4 separate regions of the Homo sapiens genome follow, and regions 1, 2 and 3 are each linked to region 4. The links are contacts of gene promoters, found by promoter capture Hi-C in human tissues and cell types (Jung and others, 2019). All regions are on one chromosome and are shown on one strand. The core of a region is centred on a gene start or on the middle of the fragment in contact, and the rest is flanking DNA. Distances in the headings are between cores, read along the strand shown.

Evidence for each region. The method cuts DNA at HindIII sites, captures the fragments that hold promoters and counts their contacts. A contact is called where the count stands out against the background at its distance.
Region 1: a contact is called between a fragment that was not itself captured here and the fragment with the promoter of ABCC12 in region 4, in 2 of the 25 tissues and cell types used here (IMR-90 fibroblasts and lymphoblastoid cells).
Region 2: a fragment that was not itself captured here is called in contact with the fragment with the promoter of ABCC12 in region 4 in 1 of the 25 tissues and cell types used here (adrenal gland).
Region 3: a fragment that was not itself captured here is called in contact with the fragment with the promoter of ABCC12 in region 4 in 2 of the 25 tissues and cell types used here (H1 embryonic stem cells and dorsolateral prefrontal cortex).

The regions. Positions count from the first base shown.
Region 1 is chr16:47,949,744-47,952,933 of GRCh38, reverse strand. No RefSeq gene overlaps it. Among named protein-coding and RNA genes, the nearest start is that of LINC02134, 14 kb to the left of the region's middle. The HindIII fragment of the contact is 8,848 bases long and covers 1-3,190 here.
Region 2 is chr16:47,970,109-47,973,652 of GRCh38, reverse strand. It overlaps LINC02134 (long intergenic non-protein coding RNA 2134), which reads right to left. Exons shown (of 2, transcript NR_146502.1): 2 at 1,966-2,290. Among named protein-coding and RNA genes, the nearest start is that of LINC02134, 6.2 kb to the right of the region's middle. The HindIII fragment of the contact is 3,322 bases long and covers 106-3,427 here.
Region 3 is chr16:47,928,422-47,931,765 of GRCh38, reverse strand. No RefSeq gene overlaps it. Among named protein-coding and RNA genes, the nearest start is that of LINC02134, 36 kb to the left of the region's middle. The HindIII fragment of the contact is 3,506 bases long and covers 1-3,132 here.
Region 4 is chr16:48,154,599-48,157,877 of GRCh38, reverse strand. ABCC12 (ATP binding cassette subfamily C member 12) reads left to right here and starts at 1,885. Exons shown (of 31, transcript NM_001393797.1): 1 at 1,885-2,037. The HindIII fragment of the contact is 12,201 bases long and covers 1-2,256 here.

The DNA of each region.
Region 1 (3,190 bases), core at 412-2,911, 200 kb after region 4:
GCTAAGACAGTCAGTTTAGCAAGAAGTTCCTTGCCTTTGATGTCCCTCCTCAGTAATTTTCTATCCCCTGACCCCCTCACCCTACTGCTTGGCTGTAAATCCCCACTTATCCTTGCTGTATTTGGAGCTGAGCTCAATCTCTCTCTCCTATTACGATACTTCTATTGCAACAATCTTAAATAAAGTCTTCCTTACCATTTTAACAAGCTTCTGAATATATTTTTCTTTAGCAAGCAAACATGCAGGGTCTCTTTGTCTCTTTGTACCTGGCAAAGTTTCATCCATCCTTAAGTTCCAACGTTACCTTGTTTTCCATCTTTCCTTGAGGACCCTGGCCTCCCCTAACAGCAGGAAAGGCTCTCATTTAGCACCTGTCTCACTGCATTGTGGTTGGGGTTTTTACATGGCTGTCTCCTCTGTGGCGAACCCCTGGAGGCCGGACTGTGTCTGTCTTTGTGTCTGTCTTTGTGTCTCCAGCACCCAGTCCGGACCTCGCATGAGGAGAAGCTCACTTCAGCCTGTTTAACTGCACTGCCTCCCTGTAGAGTCAAGTCCTGTGCTCAAAGTGCAGGCAGACCTTTCTGGGCTGGGGAAGTCAGTGAGGGCTTCATGGTGGATGGGAAGGGCTCAACAAAGCAAAGAACAGGAAGGAGAGCACCACTGGCTTGGGAGCAGCATAGTAAACAAATGGAGGACTGTGGCACAGTCATCACGTGGGGAAGTGGTTCATCAGGCATCATCCAGCGTCCAGAAGCAACTCAAGATTGGAGCAATTATTGTATATAAATTATAACTCAATTAAAAATTAGGCTTCTTATAAATTTATCTCCTGCAATGCAAGACATAGGAAACTTGGCAGGTTGTCAAGACAGACAGGACCAAGGACCTGGAATGTTAGCAAGATCCTGGGCGGATGGCCTCTTACCTCTTGCTCTCTCCAAGCTCAACTTCTCTCAGACCAGCTGCATTTGTTCCACACACACACATAGTCCAGCCTGGATATCCCCAACTCACCCCCACAGCCCTGCAGTTCATAATACCTTCCAGCCTAACTGCACAGTGGATCTGCAGCATCTCACAGAGACACTAGTTAGTAGCAGAGTTAGGCTGGAAGGTATTATGGTCCCATCAGCTATGTTATGGGAAGGGGGATGCCTAAGAGGCTGTGAGGATCTACTTCCATGGTGGTGGAGAGAAGGAGGCCTAGGCTGACACATCCATGGATGCGTCAACAACAGGGCATGCTGTGGAACTTGTGATTGGGACCCTGTATTGAATCAGGACTGCAAATTTGAGTGCCAACTGGGCTAGACAGGTAATTTAAATTAGTGAAGAGCATAACAAACTGGCAAGTTCATCCTCTGCCCCAAAGGGGAGCACCTGGACCAGAATAGAGGGTTTGCATAAAAAGAATTTAAAAATAAGAGGAAAATTGTGTCCAGAATTGGTTCCTTCCAGTGGGTTCTTGGTCTCGCTGACTTCAAGAATGATGCCACAGACCCTTGCGGTGAGTGTTACAGTTAAAGATTGTATGTCTGGAGTTTGTTCCTTCAAATGTTCAGATGTGTCCAGAGTTTCTTCCTTCCGGTGGGTTCGTGGTCTCGCTTACTTCAGGAGTGAAGCTGCAGACCTTTGCAGTGAGTGTTAAAGCTCTTAAAGGTGGCGGGTCCAGAGTTGTTTGTTCCTCCCTGTGGGTTGGTGGTGTCGCTGGCTTCAGGAGTGAAGCTGCAGACCTTCGCAGTGAGTATTACAGCTCATAAAAGCAGTGCAGACCCAAAGAGTGAGCAGCAGAAAGATTCATTGTGAAGAGCAAAAGTACAAACATTCCACACCTTGGAAGTGGACCAAAGTGGGTTGCCGCTTTGGCTCAGGTGGCCAGCTTTTATTGCATGATTCGGCCCCACCCACATCCTGGTGATTGGTCCATTTTACAGAGCAGTGATTAGTCCGTTTTTACAGAGTGCTGATTGGTGCGTTTACAAACCTTTAGCTAGATGCAGAGCATTGATTGGTGCGTTTTTACAGAGTGCTGATTGGTGCATTTACAAACCTTTAGCTAGACACAGAGCGCTGATTGGTGCGTTTTTACAGAGTGCTGATTGGTGCATTTACAAACCTTTAGCTAGACACAGAGCACTGATTGGTGTGTTTACAATCCTTTAGCTAGACAGAAAAGTTCTCCAAGTCCCCACCTGACCCGGAAGCCCAGCTGGCTTCACCTCTCAAAATTATGTCCTTTGCAGCAACATGGATGGAGTTAGAGGTCATTATACTAAGCAAATTCATGCAGGAACAGAAAACCAAACACTGCATGTTCTCACTTGTAAGTGGGGACTAAACAATGAGCAAAGAGGGGAACAATAGACACTGGGACCGACTTGAGGGTGGAGGGTGGAGGAGGGTGAGGGTCGAAAAACGACTTTTCAGGTACTATGCTCATTACTTGGATGATGAAATAATCTACACCCCAAACCCCCCCAGGACACACAATTTACCCATGTAACAAACCTGCATGTGTACCCCCGAACCTAAAAGAAGAGTTTGCAAAAAAAATGAAATTAAATAAAAACTAAAAATAAAATTAATTTGATTACAAAAAAAAAAAAGAATTGGACCAACTGAAAGCCCCGCAGGGTCATGCACAGTATCTTTTAGGCAAGAAAGAGCCTATGCTCTAGAAATACTTTAATACTGGGCTCCACGTTCCTCGGGGGGGAGGGTATCCTGTACCCCTCTTAGAAATGCCTTTCCAAGCATGAGGACCACAGAGAGCAAGCACAAAGCAATCCAGGGCTCAGCTGCAGAATGGCACTCCATGCACAGAAATGCAGTTATAAGCACTGTAATAGCCTGCCTCCTCTCATTACAGAGACTACCCTTCCTCACACCCCAGAGGTGCAGAGGCCTTCACATCTCCTGACAGCATTGGCAGGTGCACGTTGAGATTTCCGGGCCTCCAGATGGGGCTGCACCAACCGGCCCTAATTGCCATTTTGAGAAGCGGAGCAGACCTGTCTCATCTGGAAGGGCCCATGCTGGAAGCGGGAGCGTCTGCGTGTGCCCCAGCTGTCTCTCCTGGTGATCAAGCATTACAACAGCACCCAGGAGAGGGCAGGAAGGTGCCGGGGTGAGCTGGCAAGGGCGAGTGTTCAGCAGTGAAGCTCAATCAGATTGCCTTTGTGTAGGTTAT
Region 2 (3,544 bases), core at 517-3,016, 180 kb after region 4:
ACCTGCAGTGTGCTGGCAGGGTCCCAAGAGCTGGGAACACATCTGTGAACATCAGACAACAATCGTGCTCTTCTGGAGCTGATATTTGATCATTATAATTCTCTGAGGCAGGCAGGTATCAGTACCCCTACTTATTAGACCATCCACCTAAACTTTAGAGAAGTTAAAGATTTACCCAAGTTATGCAGCTATTGGGTTATGGAGTCAGAATATCAAACCTGATAAGACTCATCCTTAAGTTTAAAATATGCGCTTATTTTAAAATCATGTTATACCTTAATAAAAATGGTGGAAGTGATAGAATATAAAGTTAAAGATAAGTTCCATCCTTCATTGTCTCTAGCCTCACCTGATGAAGGCTGTTGGACATCCTGAAACAGGCTATGTTTTTCCTCACCTCTCTCACATTTTTCTTTTCGGGCCCTTCTCTCCATTCAAATTGCCCTATTTTGTCACCCAGGATCCTCAACTTGCTCCCAATTGCTTAAACACAGCTGTCTGTCCTGCTCCCTCTTCTCCTACTCCCCAAAATACTACTTGGCACACTCTTTCTATGCACTCGTTGATCACTGAATACCTAGAGGATGCTGGGCATGGTGGCAAGTGTGGGGAGGCACATTCAGAAAGAATAAGACACAGGCTGTCTCCCTCCAGGGGCCTGTATTTGCACTTTAAATTGGGATTTTTCAACCCAAAAAAGGCTCTAAGATCTAAAAATGCAGCTCAAATGGTAGATTTTTCAGGTACTTTAAAAGATATTCCATTAGACCATTTGTTCATTATCCAGGAGCTTGCCAAAAATGCATATTCCCAGTCTCCCTCCTCAGATATTCTATACTCTATAGTTCTGGGGTGGGGGGCAGGAATCTGCACATTCAGCAAGTTTCCCAGGGTCCACGTACAACATTTTTTGAAAAGCATTGGTGTACTGGGGGAGATTGTATTGTGCACCCCCTCTAGGAATCCCACTGTGATGGCCACACCCATGATACTTCTGTTGAGGAACTTATCACACTCGATTGCAGCTGTCTGTCTGTGTCTACCACCAGACAGTGGAACCCATTCCTATTCATCTTTGTAGCTCATGTCTCTGGCACATAGTGCCATACCAGAGACATGAGGTAAACATTTATCAGATGTATAAAGATGTGCACAACTCCACATTAGTCACACACACACACATCATTGTCATCATCACCATCATCATCGTCGTCGTCATCATTGTCATCTACTGTATTCACATGGAAAAAGCTGGTCCTAGCTCTGCCCCACTACGTGGTGCCTGGCATGAATACCTGCTTTTGCAACATGCTAAGAAGGAAGGCTTCATAAAGCCATAGTTGACTTGGCAGCTGGAGAAAAGTACAAAGGCATATTGCAAGAAGAGAGTTAAACTCTTGATTTATTCCCATTTCCATCTAGCATGAAACCTACAATAATAAAATTGAGTGTTTTGGTGAAGATCACAGAGCAAGTTGTTCAGATCTAGGGATAGAACTACACATTTTTTTTTTTTTTACTTTCTATGAAGTTCTTATTGCTCTGATCAAATCTAAGAAATCCAAACCCAAACATCTGTGATCTCATGCCACTATCTTATAGCACTTGTGGCATTAGTAAAAATATAATTATATATTTGTAAAATCTTATTTTTCATATTGTAGATACAATAAATATAACTAGAATATCTAATTCTTGACAGCAATGGATCATCTTGCAATCACTCCACTTTGGGAAGCCCTACATTATATCAGGGGTTCATAAATGCTCTTCTAGTTTGGGAGCCACAGGGAAGGAAGCCCAGCATCATATGCAGAAATAAAAATGGAAAGATTTAAAAGACAGAGAGAGATGAGGGAGAAAAGCAAGAAGGAAGGGAGGGAGAGAGTGGAAGAAGGGAAAGAAGGAGCAAGAAGAAAAGAAAGGAAGAAAGGGAGAAGAAAAGAAGCAAAGAAGGAAGAGAGGTCTGAAGCCACAGATTTTTATTTGAAGATGACTGCATTATATGCACAGGGGATCATTTCACAATATTAACTCACAAACAATAAGCTTGGATTAGTCAAAGGCACACTAAGGTCAGATTTGCTGTTTCCCACACTTTCCTCATTGCTATGTATAATTAAGTGAATTTGGTAGGACACAAAGTAAAAATGCCCCTCCTTCATGGCATCCCTAATGCTTCTTGAGAGCCCACGAATGCATTTATGGCCAGTATCTCTGTAATCCAGGCAGCACTGTTTTTCACGTTCAGCTTCCAGGCACTTGATTGAGACTCCAGCACAATGCATCCCTGATAATAAAACAGATAAGGTAGTTACTATGTTTAAATGGAGACAGCCCATTTGTGAATATGCCAGAATTTGCTGTAATAGAATTAAATAAGGAAAATACTATTGTGAACCCAGAAAATCTCTACAAGTGCTGAACTGTTTATAACACATTGCTCTGTACTTCACATATTTTGAAAAAACTTTAAAGGTCACCTGGCTCAATCTCCAAACTATAAATTAAATATTGAAAAACAAAGTCACATTATCTTTTGAGAGGCCTCAGTTTCTTCATCTGTAAAATGAGAGGACTGAACAAGGTTTATTCCAGTTTCAACATCTCATAAGTCAGCAAGAATACCTAGGAGCAGTAATTAGTCATGGTCCCTTTGGTGCATGGTCAAGCATATTGAGTAAGGAATGAAAACTGTATCTCTCTTATTTGCTTCAAATATTAACTTACAAATGCTAACTTTAACTTGAACTGTGTAATGGCAATCTGATTTAGTCTGGAAATTATACCTAGATAGATCTAGAAATAGAAACACTTCCACTTCTTTCAGGGATAACCTTTCATTTCTATGATTTTACCTGACCCCTTACCAAATGTGAAACCTCAGTAGAAGTGTCAAAAGGGTAGCAAAGTTTCTAAAGAAAAAAAAGCAGGTTTTCTCAGACTTCCACAAATGCTAATTACTCATAATGACAAGTCATTACCCAAATCAATTTCTGGAAAGTCACAAGGACTTGACAGGTCAAAGCTGAAATGTCATCTCAGCCTCCAGTAAGAGACTCTGCCAAATTAACCTTCAGCATACCCACACACCCTTTTTCCAAAGAGAGGAAGCACAAATAGAAAGGAAGATTCAGCACCTTGGAGAGAGGAAACCGACTCAAGGTATACACATGGGAAGATGAGAGAGGCCACTGAGCTCCAGGAGCTAAGGGCTGGTATAAGGGCGTCCTCCAGCACAACTTAAGCTACATGACATAATTATGGCCTTTTGTGGGGACAGGACTCATGCAACAGACACAAATGCAGCTCTCTGAAATTCAGAAGTGGGGACATGGGAACATCTGAGCCCTTTGGGATAGGAAGAGGCTGAGACACTTGGCTGCCGATAGCACTGGATCTCATTAAAACAAATGCTAGTTCTAGACGGATTTCTATTAACAGATTTATTCATTATTTAATTTATGCATTTGAGCATGTATTTAGTCAACAAATGTTTTCTGAGTATCTACTTTTTGCCAACTACTATTCTAAGTTCTAGGGG
Region 3 (3,344 bases), core at 130-2,629, 230 kb after region 4:
ACATTTAACACCCAGCTCTTACAATTTCTAAATACCATTCTCCACCAAAAGTAACCAGGATTCTTTGGAGAAGTGGCAGGTGTCAAGGCTGGAGCTGAAGAGCCTGGAGAATCTTGTGCCAGAAAGCAAGGAGTGCTCAGAGAATGATGGAAACCTGAGAGAAGGAGAAAAGACAGACTGGAAAGGCTCTCACTGGTCAAATCTGGGACAGTTTGAACATCAAAATAAATAATGACAGTATTAGATTATAACTAGTTGAATAAAATAAGAATCTATGAGTCCATATAGATATAAATAAATAAATGGAAGAAAGAGAAAGCTTTTTCTCCCAGCAGAAGGAATGATAGAATTAGAAATTCACTGTTTGGCAACTATCAAGAGTAATGATTAATTCATCCAAAAAACATCAATGGATGCCAAAAGTAGTCCTTAAAATTTGAGGAGGAACAGGATATTTACATAGTATCAAAGTATCTCCCTATAAAATGCTTATAAATTACAAAGAATAAAAGAGTAGCTTTTTTATGGTGTAGAGACTTGACAGACACCACCTTAATCAAGTAATCAAAGTTAACATTAAAGTAATGGGACACACCAATGTCGTACGCCATTCCATATGATGCAATGGGAGGAACACAGCGTAACTTCTGTGACATTTTGCCAAAGATGCATTATCTTGGTGTAATCATGAAGAAATATCAGACAAATGCAAATTGTAGTACATTCTAAAAATAACTGTCCTGTGATCTTGACAAGTGTCAAGGTCATAAAAGTCAAAGAAAGAGAAACTCTTCCAAATTGAAGAAGACGAAAGAGATCTAACTAAATCTAGTGGTGCTGGGTTGGATTATTTTGCTATAAAGGACATGTGGTATAACTGGTGAAACTTGAATGGGGTCTGGGGCTTGAATGGTAACTCATATTTTGATGATTGATTGTGGTTATGAAGAGAATGTTCGTGTTTGCAGAAATTACACACTCAACCATTCAGGGGTTATGGGCATCATATCACTTACCCGCTAATGGTCAATGAAAAATATTTTGTAAATTGCTTAAACTTTTCTGTAAACTTGAAGTTGTTTCAAAATAAAAAATAATTATATTTAGTATGTAAAAAGAAATTCACTGTAAAATAAATACAATAAAAAATAATGTTATGGCTGGGTGGGGTGGCTCACGCCTGTAATCCCAGCACTTTGAGAGGCCGAGGCTGGCAGATCACCTGAGATCAGGAGTTCAAGACCAGCCTGGTAAACATGGTGAAACCCCGTCTCTACTAAAAATACAAAAATTAGCCGGGTGTGGTGGTGGGTGTCTGTAATCCCAGCTACTCGGGAGGCTGAGGCAGAAGAATTGCTTGAACCTGGGAGGTGGAGGTTGCAGTGAGCCGAGATCACGCCACTGCACTCCAGCTTGGGCAACAGAGCGAGATTCTGTCTCAAAAAATAAAAAATTTAAAATAATAACTTTATTTAACTAGCTAGTTCTGTTGCCTACCAAGAGAAGGGCTGGGGGCTTGAGATCTATTTTCCCCTTGTTTGAAATAGAGATTAGCAAGTGTTCAGTGTTCAGGACATTCCTACAACAAACAGAATTTCTTCTGTCATTGGAAGGGGGAAACAAATTTTTTAAAAAGAATAACTTTCTTATGATATGTCTTCTTGTTTGTGTTTACCTAAAATCATTTCCTCTACCACTCATAGTGTTTGGCCCACGCTTTAGGAAACACTGGAAAGCAATTACCCAACTATATATTTAATAAATGGTTATGTGTGAGTAGATACATCAGGATAAACTGTTTCTCTAATATCCCATTAATTGCTTGTAATAGAAGAATGCAGGCAATGAGAACATTGTTAATTGAAAACCTCAACTTATCTCCATGCTTCATCCCATTTATCTCAAATTCTTTCACACTTGACCAATGTAATGTTCAGCCTCCTTCTCTTGATACTCAGTCTTTGAGGCCTAGAGTGTCCATGGAATGTGTTCTAAGCTCCAGACTCCAATATTTAGCTGCCTAGTGGCACCTCAGTATGTATACCACACCAGCAACAAAGCTAAATGTTTCCTCTCCTCCATCCCAGCTCTCAAATATGCTCCTTTCCTGCCCATCCTGCCATGGTGAGTGGTGGCACCCTCATCTACCAGTTTCTCAAGCCAAGATCCTGGGCATCATTCCAGACCCCACCTGATCTCCCTTGTCATCTCCTTCCCTCTAGATTCTCTCCATAACTGAGGCCTGTGGTGCATACACATTTCCCCACATCCACTACCCCCATTCCAGGCCAAGCTCCTAACTGGCCACTCCACTCCCACCCCTGCCCCTGACCCCCTCCAATTCACTCTCCAAGCTGCAGCCAGAATTATTTTTTTTTAAAGAAAATACAATTTTGTAGCTCTCTTCCATAAAACCTTTCAAAGCTGCGCTGCTTAATGCAGTAGTCATTAGCCACGTGTGACTATTTAGATTTAAATTAATTAAAATGAAATAAAATTAAACATTCAGTTCCTCCATTGCACTAGCCACATTTCAAATGTTCAATAGTCATGCAGCTAATATAGGACAGCCCAGATGACAGAACACAGAAACTTTTCATAGGATAATGCTGCCTCAAAAGCTTCCCATTGCATTTGGATAAAGCCAAAATTCTTTGCGAGGTCTACATGGCCAACCTGATTAAATCTGAGCTCCTTTTCCAAACTTCTTGCCTGTCTCTTCCTCCACCATCACCAACTCCAGGCACACTGGGCTTCTTCTCATTTCCTCACACAAACCAAGGTCTTTGCTCTCTCAGGGCCTGACTTAAGGTGCTCCATCTGCCTTGAACATTTCCCCCATTCCCTGTCTCACTAACTCCCACTCACCTTTCAGACTTCAACTTAAACATCACTTCCCCCAAAAGGCCTTTCTTACCTCCCCAAACCAAATAATTAGACTATTATTATAACCTGTTTTTGCATCCTCTTTTTCTTCTTTTGTGTTATTTATCGTACCCACAATGGTGATATATTTATTTGGTGATATTTAATATATATCTCTCTAACACGGTTAGGAGAGAGACCCTAATTTTTTGTTCACCATTGTATCTCTGTTACCGAACCAAACTTGGATCCACTCACTCAGCACGCAGAAAAAGGCAAACAACAATACTAGGATTTGCAGTGAGAGAAATTGAGATGTTTATTGCAGGGTACTAAGCAAGGAGAAGTGGGCAGCTAACACCATCTGAACTCCTCAATGGATTATAAGGGAGGGTTTTTAAAGGCAGAGTTACGTTTTAGGAAAATAGAAGTTACAGGCAAAATCATGAATCAATACAGGGAGATTATATATTGCTTTG
Region 4 (3,279 bases), core at 636-3,135:
CCCACCTCAGCCTCGCAAGTAGCTAGGACTACAGACACATGCCACCACGCCCAGCTAATTTTTGTATTTTCAGTAGAGATGGGGTTTCACCATGTTGCCTAGGCTTGTCTTGAATGCCTGGGCTCAAGTGATCCACCTGCCTTGGCCCCCCAGTACTGGGATTATAGGCCTGAGCCTCTGCACACAGCCAAAATAGAATTTTTAAAGGAAGAGGAGAAATATGAAAAGGATTTCTATTTTTTTTCTTTTTGTATTCCAGTGGATTATCTCGCCCCCCCGCGAGCTGTGTGTACACCCAGGATGGGCCTCAGTTCCCTGACTATGGGTGAGTCCACGCTCTGCCTGGAACAGGAGCTTGGCTGGTCTTTTCCTAAGGACTTCCTTGGATACAGACCGGACAGTCCCTCTCCATCATTCTCCACTCTGTTTCCGGCTAGGCCCACCAATCTTCTTGCGTAGCGCCCAATACTGTTTGTCTGGGTGGAAATCCATCTCCGCCCAGCCTTTCATGGAGATAGAGGAAAACTGATCGGCATTCTTCCTCCATAAACTTGACAGCACTTGACTCCGTTTGGAAGATTGTGGAAGCGAGTCTTTGCTGTGTTTATGAGACCCCCGGGGTTGTTGCGAAGATCAAGTGATAAAGAGGATGAAGAATTTTGCGATACACAAAGGGCTCCAGAAATGTCGAGTGATATTATTAGCAGTGATTTGCATTCATGAAGGGAAGAATGGACGGAAATTAAATGGAACACTTTGGACACGTGTAAGGAAACTGCTGTCGGTCTAGCTCACTCCCCAGGCCGGGGAGCCTTCCTGGGAGGACCCATTTTCCTACACAGCTGCCCACAGCCCCTCTCCATTTCCACCTCCCTCTAGGTAGGAAGGGAACTCAGGTTGGGCAAAGGCGGTGAATTCGCATCTCCAGGAAGCGGCGGGGCCGGAAGGCAGCCAGCAGGGGGCGGCATTGCGCAGGACAGGAGAAGGTAGCGGCCAAGTTCCTCATGAAATCCACGTGCGTGAGGCTGGGAAGGTCCTCTAAGATGTTTAAATAACCCTTAAAGCGGAATCAAGATTTGTTTTTTTCTGCAGTTAGAGAGTTTGCTCCCTCCCAGCCGGCTCGCTGAGCGCTGTGGAACCCTTCGGCTGGGCTCCCCTGAAATCGGGCGCTTGTTCTGGGACAGGCGCAGAAGGGACCCCGGGAATCACGCTTGCGCTCGGGATGTGCAGGGTTCCAAGGGTGACACAGGGGAACTTTTCTATGCAAGGGCTAGCTGCTAGTGCAGGTCTCAGACTTACCTTCCGTTCATTTCAAGACAAATTGAGCTCAAATTACCCTTTTCTTTTTCGTTAAATGAATGGGGAATGAATGAATGAGATTTTCTGTTTTGAAGATGAGGCTCATCTCCCCTCCCCTCGCCTCCCCTGCCCTCCCCTACCCCTGCCCTCCCCTACCCCTGCCCTCCCCTCCCCTCCCTTCCCTTCCCCTGATCCCAAAGTTGATTCCCGGTTGCAGGAACACAGCGTAGAAAATTCGATGCATTCTCTCAGGAAGGAGCCTGGAGTGGGACTCAGGGGACCTGGGTGCTGGTCTCAGCCCCACGCCAGTCGTGGACAGGCTTCTGTTCCTTGGGCTTCTCGTCTGTAGAATGACGGTTGGAGAGAGGATTTTTCTCCTTCTCTTCTACAAGGATGTGCTGTGACAGCCAGGGAAGGGCTGGCCATGCACAGTGCTTTCATGCATGGGCTCTGACTGTCACCAAAGAGCCAGACCCGGCCACAGGCCATCCTGGAAGAGGGGAGAGCCCTTTAATGTGGGCAGAGGGAATGTTGGCCCGCCAGAGTTCCCTCTCAGGTGTGGTGGGAGTGGCAGTTGAATGGGGCAGTTGGAGAGGAGGACTTCAGGCGGGTGGGACAAGAGAAACTGAATCTGAGGTCCTTGGGGAGAAGCAGGCCCTGGAGTCCTGGGCAGCAGATGCCAGGCTCTGAGCCCCATGACTGCTGACCCTCCTCCCCTCCCTCTCATCCTCAGCCCAGGTAAAGCTTCATTTCCAGCCCAGGTAAAGCTTCTCCCTGTAACAATTAGTGGCCACCATTTAGTCCCAAGGGCCTTTGTTTCTCATCCTCAGGACAGGCTGTGTGTGTGTGTGGTGGGGGGTTTGGGGGAGGTGACACCACTGAATGGGGCTGCCCAAGTGGGAGGCAGCAGGGACGAGGCTCCCAGAAGAAAGGCAGCCCCTCTTCCACTTTTGGAGCCCCCGCTATCATAAAAGAAAAGGCAGAAATGCCAAGACGCGATTTCAAAATCTCTGAAATACAAAAGCCTACATTGAATATTTTAAGTCTTTTCCCACACATGCACAAACACAAACACATATACAGGGTAGTGTTCACAATTTAATTATGGGATTTATACCTCCCCCCCAAAAAAAAAGACCTGGAAAGCTTTACTGCAGTTCTCATATGAGGTTTTCATCTTTCTTTCTTTTTTTTTTTTTTTTAACTTTTAAATATATTATTTTCCTGGGAGGGTAGATTTGAATTGCTCTGAATCCAGGCTCTGCATCCTTCTTTGATCGTGTCGGAATGTGTCTGTAACTGGATGGATGACCTCTTTTGGAGATGCCATCACTGGCCACTGTTTTAGGCCTTCTGGGAGATGAGGGTACTTGAGCAAAAGCACCCCCACTTCCCTTCCCACACCCCCAGCTTGGTGCTGTCCCCTGCATGCACTTCCCTCTGCCACCTCTCTGCCTCTCCCTGCCTCCCAACCCCAGTCCCTCATCACTCACAGGGCTTTCTGATCTGGCTGCCACAGGTGCCTGGGACCTGGGGACAGACAGGAGAGGTGCGGTGCAGGCAGGGCCTGGGAGAGCTCCCCAGTGTCTCCTCTGTGCTGGAGGCCAGTCAGGCCCTGGAGGAAGGGGCTGTGGGAGTTGGGGGAGACCATCAGATATTGATAACTTTGGTGGCTTTAAATTAACAATGGATTTATTAAGAAAGAAGTAGGGCTGTAGTCTCATACCTGGGAAAAATTTTATGACTAAAGGTGTGCCTGCTTTTGGTTGATGGAGGAACTCCCATCATGAGCACCAAGGAAGACCCAGAGTCCAGTTCTCAAACATAAAGTTGTTAATTTTCTGGGCTAGACAGGGGCAGAAATGAAATATAACAGAGCAAAGTGGGCAGGTGTGGAAAATGGTTCTTCTTGAGATGACTTCTAGACATCTTTTGTTCTCTCTTGGGGCAGAGACAAGGATAGAGAAAAAGGCCTCAGGA